5 separate regions of the Homo sapiens genome follow, and regions 1, 2, 3 and 4 are each linked to region 5. The links are contacts of gene promoters, found by promoter capture Hi-C in blood cells and fetal thymus (Javierre and others, 2016). All regions are on one chromosome and are shown on one strand. Each heading gives the region's core, a stretch centred on a gene start or on the middle of the fragment in contact. The rest is flanking DNA. Distances are from core to core; before and after follow the strand shown.

What was found. Contacts are between HindIII fragments. The CHiCAGO score rates a contact against its expected background, and 5 or more counts as called.
Region 1: a contact is called between the fragment with the promoter of RALGPS2 here and the fragment with the promoter of AXDND1 in region 5, in 13 of 17 cell types (fetal thymus, naive CD4 T cells, naive CD8 T cells and 10 more). The highest score is 18.9, in fetal thymus.
Region 2: a fragment that was not itself captured here is called in contact with the fragment with the promoter of AXDND1 in region 5 in 1 of 17 cell types (naive CD4 T cells); the score reaches 5.2 in naive CD4 T cells.
Region 3: a fragment that was not itself captured here is called in contact with the fragment with the promoter of AXDND1 in region 5 in 12 of 17 cell types (naive CD4 T cells, total CD8 T cells, naive CD8 T cells and 9 more); the score reaches 15.9 in naive CD4 T cells.
Region 4: a contact is called between the fragment with the promoter of C1orf220 here and the fragment with the promoter of AXDND1 in region 5, in 7 of 17 cell types (naive CD8 T cells, erythroblasts, total CD4 T cells and 4 more). The highest score is 9.2, in naive CD8 T cells.

What each region holds. Positions count from the first base shown.
Region 1 is chr1:178,723,809-178,726,508 of GRCh38, reverse strand. It overlaps RALGPS2 (Ral GEF with PH domain and SH3 binding motif 2), which reads right to left and starts at 1,265. Exons shown (of 20, transcript NM_152663.5): 1 at 1,090-1,265. It overlaps RALGPS2-AS1 (RALGPS2 antisense RNA 1), which reads left to right and starts at 225. Exons shown (of 1, transcript NR_187252.1): 1 at 225-2,700. RefSeq lists silencers at 456-685, 886-1,005, 1,266-1,435, 1,337-1,491 and an enhancer at 326-915. The HindIII fragment of the contact is 4,509 bases long and covers 1-2,700 here.
Region 2 is chr1:178,756,955-178,759,699 of GRCh38, reverse strand. The region is part of intron 1 of RALGPS2 (Ral GEF with PH domain and SH3 binding motif 2); the gene reads right to left. Among named protein-coding and RNA genes, the nearest start is that of RALGPS2-AS1, 32 kb to the right of the region's middle. The HindIII fragment of the contact is 1,422 bases long and covers 641-2,062 here.
Region 3 is chr1:178,773,457-178,776,156 of GRCh38, reverse strand. The region is part of intron 1 of RALGPS2 (Ral GEF with PH domain and SH3 binding motif 2); the gene reads right to left. Among named protein-coding and RNA genes, the nearest start is that of RALGPS2-AS1, 49 kb to the right of the region's middle. The HindIII fragment of the contact is 414 bases long and covers 1,097-1,510 here.
Region 4 is chr1:178,541,456-178,544,155 of GRCh38, reverse strand. C1orf220 (chromosome 1 putative open reading frame 220) reads right to left here and starts at 1,360. Exons shown (of 3, transcript NR_033186.1): 1 at 1,271-1,360. LOC124904460 (a long non-coding RNA gene) reads left to right here and starts at 1,511. Exons shown (of 2, transcript XR_007066748.1): 1 at 1,511-2,122; 2 at 2,330-2,700. RefSeq lists silencers at 1,126-1,195, 1,226-1,555 and an enhancer at 1,606-1,665. The HindIII fragment of the contact is 17,585 bases long and covers 1-2,700 here.
Region 5 is chr1:179,364,711-179,367,410 of GRCh38, reverse strand. It overlaps AXDND1 (axonemal dynein light chain domain containing 1), which reads right to left and starts at 1,440. Exons shown (of 26, transcript NM_144696.6): 1 at 1,411-1,440; 2 at 805-1,007. The coding sequence starts at 901. RefSeq lists enhancers at 1,040-1,109, 1,490-1,889. The HindIII fragment of the contact is 9,843 bases long and covers 1-2,700 here.

The DNA of each region.
Region 1 (2,700 bases), core at 16-2,515, 640 kb after region 5:
ACAGCTAACATCAGTGCCCTTTCTTCCTCCTCCCTTACCCCTCCCAACTCAAACAAATTAACATTTGTACTAGGTACCTCCTATCAGCTCGCAGCTTCTTCCCAAACACGCCCACGTACACTGAAACTGGCTTGCGTCTACACAACACACAGCTACAGGAAAAGAGCTTCGAGGGGGGAGCTGGGGCGGGGGGTTAATAATTCGCTCCGCACAGGTTTACGGCTATTTTCCAGAAACTAGTTCCTCGCTCGTGGCTCGCGTTTCTTCCAAATCACCTCAAAAGCACGGTGTTTATGAGCCTACCTAATCCGATACTGCAATGGAATTCCGGATATTTGCAGACAGATCTCCCGGCTTTGCAAGTGTTTGATGAGATACGTTCGGAATCTCCTTTTTTTTCTAGAGCCCGGTTCCAGGCCGTAGAGCAAGCCGACCTGGGGCTGCGGCCCCTGCCCCACACCCGGCCCGCGCGCCCGGCCCGAGGCCAGCACAGGACGCAGCCCCTCCGGGGCCGGGGCTGGCGGGGGCCGCTCGGGCTGCGGGCCGCTCTGCAACAGGTCACCCTGACCGCGACTCCGCGGGTTCGCGGGCGGCCAACTCTGCGGCCAGGCTTCTGGGCGCAGCCGCCAGGGCCAGGGGAGGGGGTGTGGCCCGGCTTCTGCTGGTCCTGGCTCCGAGGTCCGGGATCGGGCTCACCTGAAGGAAGACTGAGGCGCCGCTGGGCGCCAGAACAGAGCGGGCGGAGGCTGGGGGCTTCCGCCACCCAAGAGGGAGAGCGAGGCGGGTTCAAGGGGTCGCAGCGCCCCCGGCTTCAGGACGGCGCCCCCGAGCGGGGACCCCACGGCCGCTCCGACTCTGAGAACCCGCGGCCGAGGGAGGCGCGCCGCCCAGCGCCCTTCTCCCTCAGCCTCAGCCCCAGCTCCGCAGCCCCCTCCCTGCGCGCAGGGCGAGCAGCCCCGGGGCCCGCGGCCGGGAGAGCCACACTCCGCAGCGCCGCCGCCGCCATTCCCCGCGCCGCCCGGGGGGCGCCGCGTACCCACCCTCCCTCCCTCCCTCCCCCGCACCGCCCCGCGGCCTGAGCCCACCGACCTGTGCAGCCGCGGCCGTCGCCTCAGAGGACGGAAAGACGATGCCGGCCTCACGCTTCACCGCCACGGCCGCCGCCGCCTAGAGTAGCACTCGTCGACCCGAACAGTCACCGTCTCTCATTCAGCGCCCGCAGCAGCCGCCGCCGCCGCCGCCGCTGCCGCTCGGGGGAGGAGAGTGAGCTGGAACCACCCCGTCCGCGCCAGGGGTGGGGGACGAGAGCGGACCTGGCGGGGGCGCGCGCCAAGCGGGCGGGGCGGAGCCGCGCGCGCGCGCGCACCAACGGAGCGCGCTCGCGGGGGCTCTGAGAGCTGCAGCCGTCAGGGTCTTAACCTCGCGCTTCCCGCCCGCAGCTTTTCGGCCCCGCGGAGCCCAACTGCCGCCGGTGATCGGTGCCCGCAGCGCGCGCAGCCATCCGCAACCCCACCGCCCGGCGCCTGCTGAAAGGAGGGGCTCCCACCGGCCAAACAACGGGGGGGGGAAGGGGTAGGAGGATGGACAGGTGGGGCGTCCGCCACCGCCTGGCCACCCGCTCCCGGAACGCGGCCCTCTGTGAAATCCGCCGTGATGTCTGTGGCCTTCAGCGCCGGGCTCTTCACCTTTAAGGCCAGAGAACAAAGTCTGGAAGCACTTGGCCCCAAGATCAAATATCCAGCCCACGCCAGCGGTGTTTTTAGAAGTCACTGAGGACAAATGAGGGGGCTCCCAATGTGGAGAGTCACCCCACTGTCTTAGATAAGGTCATAAATTATGGTGATCAACATCCTCACACATTAAGATTCGGGAAGTGTTAGAAGTAGGCCTTTGTAAGATGTTACGCAGGGTACTACCCTTGACTTAAGGAGCAAATGACAGAAATTGGGCGGAAAGGTGTTGTTTCAGAGTCTACTAAATGGGTGGCCTACTTAAAGCTAGCACCATTTGATGCAGTGTGACTGTTAACGGAAGGTTTTAAGTGAGCCGCCTTTGTATCTGCTGTCATTAGACCATTTGGAAATGGATAATTATTTGATGATCTGCAGTTCTTTCTCTAGGCAATGTGCAGTAGAATGTGGAAAGAATACTATGTACCAGCATTAAGTGTAAAACATGAAAGGACCAATAATTCACTATTCCCATTTGGTTTCTTTCTTCCCTTTAATAACCGCTAAACAGAACTGATTAATCTTGAACGTTGAAGATTGCTAATTATTTCCTCCTTTGATTGCCTTCTGTCATAGCCCTTTTACTCTAGTTGGGGACGCTAGAATGCCCTTCAACCTCCTTCTCTCAAATAGGGTTACTTTAAAGCACCCCAACGCAAAGTTAAGTCAAAAAGAAAAACAGCGAGGATAGGCAACAAAGTTCGTAGTGTTTCATTTTTATTCCATTTTACTTTCAAAGAAAGTCTTGAATCATGACGAAATCACTAGAAGAAGTAGAGCAATCAAAAGAAGAAAAAAAGCGTTCCCCCCCACCCAATATTTCAAATGACAAGAGTCCAAAAAAGAAAAGAAAAAGGAAGATGATTGGTAAAAAGGAGGGAAGTGCATTATGTATACAGAAAGTTTTCGCATAGATGTTAGTTGCTTCAAGTCCCAAATAAACAACAACTAAATGAATTAGCACTTGGAG
Region 2 (2,745 bases), core at 102-2,601, 610 kb after region 5:
ATATTTTTAACTTGTCTGCACTAACTAATCTACAGATTCAAGGCAATGCAATCCCTATCAACATACCAATAATATTCTTCATGGAAATAGAAAAAACAATCCTAAAATTTATATGGAACCACAGAAGACACAGAATAGCTAAAGCAATCTTGGGCAAAAAAAAAAAAAAAAAGAACAAAACTGAGGAATCCTATTACTTGACTTCAAATTATACTATAGAGTTACAGTAACCAAAACAGCATGTACTGGCATAAAAACATAGAAATAGACCAATTGAACAGAACAGAGAATCCAGAAACAAATCCACACACCTACAGTAAACTCATTTTCAACAAAGGTGCCAAGAACATTCATTGGCAATGGGAAAAGGACAGTCTCTTCAATAAACAGGGCTGGGAAAACTAGATATCCATGTATAGAAGAATGGAACTAGACCCCTAACTCTCACCTTATACAAAAATCAAACCAAAATGGATTACAGACTTAAATCGAAGACCTGAAACAATGAAACTACTACAAGAAAACACTTGGAAAACCCTCCAGAGCATTGGTCTGGGAGAAAATCTATTGAATAACACCCCACAAGCACAGGCAACCAAAGCAAAAATGGACAAATAGGATCACATCAAGTTAAAAAGCTTTTGCGCAACAAAGGAAACAATCAACAAAGAGACGACTTACAGAATGGAAGAAAATATTTGCAGCCTACCCATCTGAGAAGGGATTAATAACCAGAACATATAAGGAGCTCAAACAACTCTACAGGAAAAAAAAAATCTAATACTCTGATTTTTTAAATGGGCAAAAGATCTGACTAGACATTTCTCCAAAGAAAACATATAACTGGTAAAGAGGCATATGAAAAAGTTCTCAACATCACTGTAAGTGTCCATCAACAGATGAACGTATGGATAAAGAAAATATTATACATATACATCATGGAGTACTATTCAGCCATAAAAAGACTGAGATCCTGTCATTTACAACAACATGGATGGAACTGGAGGTCATGTTAAGTGAAATAAGCCAGACACAGAAAGATAAACATTGTATGTTCTCACTTATTTGTGAGAGCTAAAAATCAAAACAATTGAACTCATGGAGACAGAGAGAAGGATGGTTACCAGAGGCTGAGAAGGGCAGTGGAGGGGATGAGGGCAGGGGGGGTAGGAAGTGACAGATAATGGGTATAAAAAGCAGTTAGAAAGAATAAGACCTAGTATTTGATAGCACTACAGGGTGACTATAGTCAATAATAATTTAATTGTACATTTTAAAATAACTAAAAGAGTATAATTGGATTGCTTGTAACAAAGGATAAATGCTTGAGGGGATGAATAACCCATTTACCACGAGATGATTATTACGCACTGTATGCCTCTATCAAAGTATCTCGTACCACCTAAATACATACACCTACTATATACCCCCAAGAATTAAAAATTAAAAGAATCAATGAAACCAAAAGTTGGTTCTTTGAAAGGTTATATGAGATTAACAGACCACCAGATAGATAAACTAAGAAGAAAGGAGATCCAAATAAGCAATCAGAATTGACAAAAGTGACATTACAACCAATTCCACAGAAATACAAAACATCCTCAAAGACTATTATGAACACCTGTACACACACAAACTAAAAAATCTAGAGAAAATGGATAAATTCCTGAAAAATCACAACCCCCCAAGATTGAATTAGAAAGAAACTGAAACCCTAAACACACCAATATCAAATTCCAAAACTGAATAAGTAATAAAATACCTACCAACCAAAAAAGGCCCTAGACCAGATGGATTCACAAATTCTACCAGACATACAAAGAAAAACTGGTAACAGTCTTCCTGAACCTACTCCAAAAAATCAAGGAGGGGGGACTCCTCCCTAACTCATTCTATGAAGCCAGCATCACCTTGATACCAAAACCTGGCAAAAACACAACAAAACAAGTAAACTGCAGGCCAATATCCCTGATGAACATAAACGTAAAAATCTTCAACACACGACTAGCAAGCCGAATCCAGCAGCACACCAAAAAGTTAATTCACCATGATTAAGCAAGCTTCACTCTTGTGATGCAAGGTTGGTTCAACATACACAAATCAATAAATGTGATTCACCACATAAACAGAATTAAAAATAAAAACCCTATGATCATCTCAATAGATACAGAATAAGCTTTTGATAAAATCCAACATCCCTTATGATAAAAACCCTCAAAAAAACTAGGCATCAAAGGAACATACCTCAAAATAATAAGAGCCATCTATGACAAACCCACAGCCAATCATACTGAACAGGCAAAAGCTAAGAGTATTCCCCTTGAGAGCTGGAACAAGACAAGGATGCCCACTCTCACTTAACATAGTACTGGAAGTCCTTGTCAGAACAATTGCACAAGAGAAAGAAATAAAAGGCATCCAAATAGGAAAAAAATAAGTCCAACTAGCTCTCTTCACTGACTATGTGATTCTATACCTAGAAAACCCTAAAGACCGCAAACGGGCTCCTACAACCAATAAATGACTCAGTAAAGTTTCAAGATACAAAGTCAATGTACAAAAATCAGTAGCATTTCCATACAACAATAACGTTCAAGCTGAGAGCCAAATCAAGAACACAATTCCATTTACAATAGAATCAACAACAACAAAATACCTAGGAATACATAGAAACAAACAAACAAATACCAAGGAGGTGAAAGATCTCTACAAAAACTACAAAACACTGCTGAAAGAAATCACATA
Region 3 (2,700 bases), core at 54-2,553, 590 kb after region 5:
ACTATAGATACCAAAATCCACCGATGCTTAAGGCCCTTATATAATGGTGCAGTATTTGCATATCACCTATACACATCCTCTTGTATACTTTAAATCATCTCCGGATTACTCATAATACTTAATACAGTGCCAATGCTACGTAAATTGTTGTTATATTGTATTTTTTAGGGAATTATAGCAAGGAAAAGTCTGTACATGTTCAGTACAGATGCAACCATCCTTTTTTTTTTTTTTTTGCCCCAAGTATTTTCAACTCAGATTTGTTTGAATCCAGATGTAGAACCCATGGATATGGTGGCTTTACTGTACCATAATATACACTATGTTTATTTGTATAGGACTTTAAAGTTTATTAAATATCTTTAATACATTATGTTGATTTGCACAACTACCAATAACACTAATTAGGGAAGATATACCCACATAACAAACAAACACAGAGCTTCTGAGGACACAGGATGGTAAATAAGGAGCCAAGAACAAGTTTCAAGCCATCAAAATTCTAGTCAAATATTCTTTTCACAACACAGATTTTCCACTTTACTGGAAGTCAGAGTACTTACTTGAAGTTCTAATACCTTTCCATAAATAACCTGTCATATAAACTGAGTAGGTAACTTTACCTCTAGGACAGAATTTCTTCCTCTTTGTAAAATGACAGTGGTAAATGAACTTTAAGATCCCTTTTCAACTTTAAAGATCTATGACGTTTTTCATAAGAGAAATGGTAAGTGTCTATAAATTAGGTACTCTATGCTACATTCACTTTAAAAGCTGAGTTTTAAATGTTAATAATAATTACTTCAATGCTAAGTTTCCTTTCTCTGGAGAAGCAATATAGGATATAGTGATTTAAAAGCACAAATTTTGGAACCACATTACCTCTGTGTAAACCCAGGAAATTTTAACTTTTCTGTACTCAGTTTTCTCATCTATAAAATAGGGATAATAAGTACCTACTTCATAGAGTTGTGGTGAAGCGAAATGAGATAATATACACAAAGCACCTAAAACAGTGTTGGCACATGGTAAATATGCTATTACTATGATGTAATGATGATGCAGATGTTACTATCTGCTTAATTCCCATAAAGCTTAAATTCAACAGAGTCTCTTAAATAAAAAAGAAAAGACAAAACCTTAGAAATACACCTTTGGGAAGCAATTGTTGCTGGGCATTACTAAAAATCCTAATTGCAAACACAATGAATGAGAATGGCTAAGATCTGTTTCCTAGAAGTAGTAAAACATGCTCTTGGTTTTGAAATGCTTAAAAATTATTACTAATGATAGCAGCCTTCAGTCACATCTTGAATTTATCTTAATTTATTCAGATACAGCCTAGGTACCTGCTAAGAGCAGAACATCGTGCTAGGATTTTTAAAACAGAAATATATTCAAAATCATGAAGTTTTAAAACCATTTAACGCACCTACTTAGAAAATCAACGTGAAAATGAATAAACTACAAAACAATTTCCTCCCATCTAAACTATCTTATTCTATAAGCTTCATTATCCTTATAGTATTAAGAATCAACTTATATTTATACTGCTATGCAACAAAACCAGCTGATAATCCAGATTCTCTTTGAACATAGCACTCAGTTTGCAAAATATTTTTCAAATAATTACATTTCATTCCACTTTCTAGGCAACATTAAGTATAACATGAATTTATAAATCAGGGGTGCCCCCTAGTGCTAAGAAAAAGATTTTAATTTAATAGGTAAAGGAGTTATATCTTTAACTTACTTTACATATCAAAATATACAATTTATTACTTTTACTTAAAAAAATGTAATACAGACCAGGAACAATATTAAAATATTTGTAAACTATAAGCATGAAGAATCACATTTTCTCTCCTTTTATTTTTTTTTTTGAGACAGAGTTTTGCTTGTTGCCCAGGCTGGCATGCAATGGCATGATCTCAGCTCACTGCAACCTCCGCCTCCCAGGTTCAAGCAATTCTCCAGCCTCAGCCTCCTGAGTAGCTGGGATTATAGGCACAAGCCACCACACCCAGCTAATTTTGGGTATTTTTAGTAGAGACAGGGTTTCACCATGTTGGTCAGGCTGTAGAGACAGGGTTTCACCATGTTGGCCAGGCTGGTCTCGAACTCTTAACCTCAGGTGATCTGCAGGCCTTGGCCTCCCAAAGTGCTGGGATTACAGGCGTCAGCCACTGCACCTGGCCTTCTCTGCTTTTAAAATAAATTGTCACCCATGTATTTCATGAAAATTAAGGTCACATTAAAATCCATTACATATTTTAAAATATAGCAAAGCATACCTTAAAGAATATAAACTTTTCGTAACTATTTACAAATGTACATGTCAATAGTATTTTTTTTTTTTTTGAGACGGAGTCTTGCTCTGTCGCCCAGGCTGGAGTGCAGTGGCGGGATCTTGGCTCACTGCAAGCTCCATCTCCCGGGTTCACACCATTCTCCTGCCTCAGCCTCCTGAGTAGCTGGGACTACAGGCGCCCGCCACCACGCCCGGCTAATTTTTTGTATTTTTAGTAGAGATGGGGTTTCACCGTGTTAGCCAGGAGTCAATAGTATTTAATAATGTTGAAGTATAACAGAGAGGCTTATACGATATTATAAAAGTACTACAAGTTCTAAAAGACAGAGATACGAGTTTATTCTTTTAGTACGTCCTTCAAAGACCTTTCTATACTTTGCACACAGAAA
Region 4 (2,700 bases), core at 111-2,610, 820 kb after region 5:
TAAGAATAAAAAATTTAGCCAGGCATGGTGGTGGCACGCCTGTTAATCCCCGCTACTTGGGAGATTGAGGCAGGAGAATCGCTTGAACCTGGGAAGCAGAGGTTGCAGTGAGTCGAGATGGCGCCACTGCACTCCAGCCTGGGCCACAGAGCGAGACTCCGTCTCAAACAAACAAACGACAACAACAAAATGCAAACTCTGGCCAGGCGCGGTGGCTCATGCCTGTAATCCCAGCACGTTGGGAGGCCAAGGTGGGCGTATCACTTGAGGTCAGGAGTTCAAGACCAGCCTGGCGAACATGGTGAAACCCCATCTCTACTAAAAATACAAAAATTAGCCAGGTGTGGTGTCATGCACCTGTAGTCCCAGCTACTCAGAAGGCTGAGGCAGGATAATCGCTTGAACCTGGAAGACAGGTTGCGGTGAGCACAGATCGCGCCACTGCACCCCAACCTGAGCGACAGAACAAGACTTCATAAAAAAAAAAAAAACCCCACGCAGATTGCAGATTCCTGGGCCCCATCTTCGCCTTTCTGAATTGCAGCCTTTCACCCTTTAAGAATGAGAGGGTGAAATCTGCACGTCATACAAATAGCCCAGGGGCTATTAATCTGATGTTGCTCCCCAGCTCCCTCCAACACCGTCAGAGGGTGCACGGATTAGGCCTCTGCTGCGTGCAGAGAAGCATCCTAGGTGCTGCGTGGCTGTGCCAAAGCAGCAGAAACCGGTGGTGTGCCTTAAGATGCATGCTCCAAAGCTGTCCACAAGGCCTCTGGTACAGGCTTCCAGGTCTACGTCTCGGCTTCCCCGACAGTGTCCATGCGACACTGTCACCAGTTTCTCCTCTCACAAGCAGAAAATCAAATTCGGATTGGGCAAATGATTCCCTGCCCGGGTGTGGAATAAGGGTCAAGTCCTAAGTATGGAGAGAGAGCGCCGGCTCCCGCCAGGATATGCGAAGCTCTGGAGGGGAGGCCAAGCCACCAGGCACCCGGCGGGAGAAGAGGAGGCTGGAGAGCGCCGCCCAGTGCCTGCAGGCCGGGCGCTCCACGCCTCCCCTCCCTCCTGCACACCCCATTCCCCTCCGGTTGCCCCGCCTGGGAAGCCCCCTCCCCACACCTCCCGGCCCAGCATCTGCACGAGAGCCGCGAGCCCTGGCCCAGAGCTCTGGGTGGGCCTCTCACCCCAGACGGCGGCCGCAGCCCGTCCCTGATCACCGGCCGCCTGAGCCCTCCGTTCGCTCGGCGCGAGCGCCGCCACCCGTCCTTACCCCCATCCAGTCCGAGGCCAGCCCCGTAGGCTCCGAGCCTGCTCCGTGAAAAGCCTTTTCCCCAGGAGGAGAGTTACTGTAAAGCAAGAGGAAGCCGAGAAGAGGCGGTGGCTGCAGCGCGCGGGGCCCGGCGGGGGCGCGGGGGCGTCGGGGTACTGACTGGGCAGCGCGGTTTCCCCTCATCCCGGGACACGGTGCGGCGCTAGCGCCACCCAGCGGGCGCGGTGGGAATTGCGCTCCCTTCCTGCGCTGGGGCTCTGGACACACAGGCGACCAAGAATGACGCCTGCAGCCGGATAAACGCTCGGGGCAAGGCCGCTATCATCCCTCTGCCGGGAGTGAGTCAAGTCTCAGCAAAAGAAGAAGCCACTTTGGCCAAAATTCCAAGAGTGCTGATGAAGACGGTGACATCTGACATTTCAATGGCACTTTCCATTTCCCCCGGGGTGCGCATTCCGGGCCAGTGGAGCGCTGCGTCGCCTGTGCAGGACCTGGAGGTCTGCAGGACTGTGACCAGTCGGAGTCTCGGAGTCGTGGGTTAAACATTAGTCGGGAGCACTCGTTCATTCCCTGAGCTCCCCTTGCCCTTCACCCTTCGGTCCCGGAAGCCGGAAGGGAGACTGCCCCGCCCCTTGCCTGCCGCCCAGTGGCTCTCCCGGGGCCCTCTTGGCCCCTCTCTCCCAGCCCTCCATACAGTGAAGGGTTGTTTCCGCTGGTGACTTCCACCTGTGGGAGCAGAGAAAGGAAGCGGGGCAGAGGAGAAGGGGAAGGTGTCAGGCGATTCCCCTCCTTGCGCTGCAAGCCGGGTGGGAATAGAACACCTGCAGCCCTCCCCGGCGCCCTGCGAATGAGGTGGGAGTGGGAACGCCATCAGGGCAGAGCCCCTCCAGCTGGCTGGGGTCTGCACCTCCTCGCCAGCCCGGCCACCTCAAAACGGTGCTTGCCTCCCTGCGGGGGTGTAGAAGCCTCTTGGAGCAGCACTTGTAGAAAATCAAGTCCCTGGAAAGAAGCAAAATTAATCCGTTTGTTTCTCTATTTATTTTTGCTTCCCCACACCAGGTATTCACTTCATCCAAGGCTGCCCAATGTCACCTTCCACCCAGAGGAATCTCCCCTCTCCACCCCAGGCCAACAGCCTCTGCCTTCAGCTGTGGCCTCCACTCTGGCATTACTCTGGGCAGAGGGCTCAGGAGGGCTCAAGGAGGACCAGTGACATTCAGAGTGGCCAGAGTAAAGGGAGGGAGGGGGAGTGGTGGGAGAGGCGTGCAGAAGGCACAGGTGAGGTGGCGGAGGGGGGCAGGTGGTGGGGGGAGCGGGCTGGGGTGGGATGGGCCTGTCAGCATAGCAAGGGCTGTGATGGGCTTGAGTCTGACAGGGGGCAATGACCTGACCTACGGTTTTGTAAGATCACTCTGGCTGCCACCTGGAGA
Region 5 (2,700 bases), core at 191-2,690:
CCTGAGTAGCTGGGACTACAGGCACGAGCCACCACGCCCCCCCTAATTTTTGTATTTTTAGTAGACAGAGTTTCTCCATGTTGGCCAGAATGGTCTCAATCTCTTGACCTCGTGATCCGCCAGCCTCAGCCTCCCAAATGGGATTACAGGTGTGAGCCACTGTGCCCGGCCTATTTATTTATTTATTTTGAGATGGGGTCTTGCTCTTGTCTCCCAGACTGGAATGCAATGGCTCGATCCTGGCTCACTGCAACCTCACCTCCTGGGTTCAAGCGATTCTCTTGCCTCAGCCTCCAGAGTAAGCTGGGACTACAGGCGCGAGCCACCATGCCCGGCTAATTTTTGTATTTCTAGTAGAGACGGGATTTCATCATATTTGGCCAGGCTGGTCTCGAACTCCTGACCTCAAGTGATCCGCCCACCTCGGCCTCCCAAAGTGCTGGGATTACAGGCGTGAGCCACCGCGCCCTGCCTCACTATTACTTTTTCCAAAGTTCCTTAAAGCCAAAGACCAGGAACCAAAAAATACGTAACTATTGATATTTAAAATAGGTTGAATTTAAAATCATATATAAATCAACATTTGAAAAAAAGTATAAACTGTATTTAGATGGAGTAGTGAAACAGTACTCTGACTCAAAATACTGTAAAAGGAATGACTTCTTGCTTTATTTAAGCAAGTGTGTTAGAAAAATGTAGCCAATCAAGGTATTCTGAATATCAGATTTAAAAAACCGGTGAATGGAAGGTGATTTCTGTCTTACGGCCATGACTGTTTATGACTTCAGAATCAACGAAGTTTACCTCTTGTCCCTTCCTTGGCTACAGACACTTTTAACTTTTTGCTCTCAGATGTTGATGTAGAGTTTAGCGGGGTGGAGGGCGTTTTCGGGAGAGACATAATAAACAATGCCTCCTATCTCTTTAGTAATTTGAAATAGTCCTCCGGAAAGCTAATTTAGACACAAATCAGCGCCGCACTGGGACTTGCAGGCTGCCACATAGTCCTGCAGGCAGAGGAAAAAAGATTTAAAAAAAAAAAAAAAGATGACAACTATTGAGTACTTAGGTTCAGATCGCAGTTTAGAATTCATCTAGCATGGTTCTCCTTCTTCGGGGCGACCTCTATGTTCTGGGGTTATGTGTAGCGACTAAGAAGCCTTAGTGGACCGTCAGGTCGGGGTCAAGGAGCAGGGCAGGAAGGACCCGCTCGGCGGACCCCGCAGACCGCCGGCACCCCTGGTGGGGGACACTCGCTGCAGGCGGCTCGGCTGGGGACCATACCTTCCCCACAGGCAGCGCTCTCGCGCGCCAGTTCCACAAACTCGCGAGTTGGGCAGGCCTCGCACTGCTTCTTGGTTTAAAATGACGGGAAAGGGACACCCGCGATCCTACCCACACATTGCGTACCCGCCCAGCATCCGCTCACTTCCTCCTTTGCTGGAACGCCTGTTTGTCGTCATAGAAACCCAGGGCCCCGAGGTTTAGCGCCCTCCATAGGGGCTGCCTTCAGCGGTGCCGGCGGAGGAGGGAGACAGCTAAGACAATCCCTACACCCTCTTGGAGTTTCTTATGTTCTAAGTCACAGCATAGGTTCAGTAGCAAAGGAGAAGAAAAACGTTTAATCCCGCCGTTGTCACGGAATCCGAAAGTGTCTCACGCCGGGGCTTCCTGCCGCGGGCCAGGCCAGTGCGCAGGCGCCGGTGGGGGTTAGCTCGAGGGGCCGACCCCTGTAGCCCGTGACGCACGCGGGTTAAGCAAGGGTCTTCTGAGTTGTTTCCATCTTTCTAGCTCTCTTTTTTGTTGCTTTGCATATTTTTCTTTCTCTTTCTTCCTCTTTTTCTTTCTTTCTCTTTTTTTCCCCTGAGACGGAATTTCCCTCTTGTCGCCCAGGCTGGAGTTTAATGGTGCGATCTCGGCTCACTGCAACCTCCACCTCCTGGGTTCAAGCAATTCTCCTGCCTCAGCCTCCCAAGCAGCTGGGACTACAGGCAGACGCCACCATGCCCGGCTAATTTTGTAGTTTGTTTTTTGTTTTGTTTTGTTTGAGACGGAGTCTCGTTCTGTCGCGCTGGCTGGAGTGCAATGGTGCGATCTCAGCTCACTGCCACCTCCGCCTCCCAGGTTCAAGCGATTCTCCTGCCTCAGCCTCCCGAGGGACTACAGGCGGGGGCCACCATGCCCGGCTAATTTTTGTATTTTTAGTAGAGACGGGGTTTCACCATATTGGCCAGGCTGGTCTCAAACTCCTGACCGCGCCCGCCTCGGCCTTCCAAAGTGCTGGGATCATAGGCGTGAGCCACTGCGCCCGGACGCTTTGCATATTTTTCTAAAAGCCAGACTCAGGGGGATGTTGGGTAATAAGAAACGCTGGGTCCCTTATTGGGTAAGCCGTCCAGTGCTTTACATTTCGGTCACGTCTTCCTTGGACCCTTAAATGCCTCCCCCCAGAGCACAAGGAAGGCCTCCTGGGCCCAGATTTTTCACCCCCTTGGGGCAGGGAAGGAGGATTGAGCTTAGGTGGAACCAGCTCAGGTATAATTGTCGGGGCTTCTGGCGTGAAAATCTGCCCTCAGGAAAGAATACCATCAGCGGCCGGTGGCTCACGCCTGTAATCCCAGCACTTTCTTAGGCCGAGGCGGGTGGATCACGAGGTCAGGAGTTCGAGACCAGCCTGACCAACATGGTGAAACCCCGTCT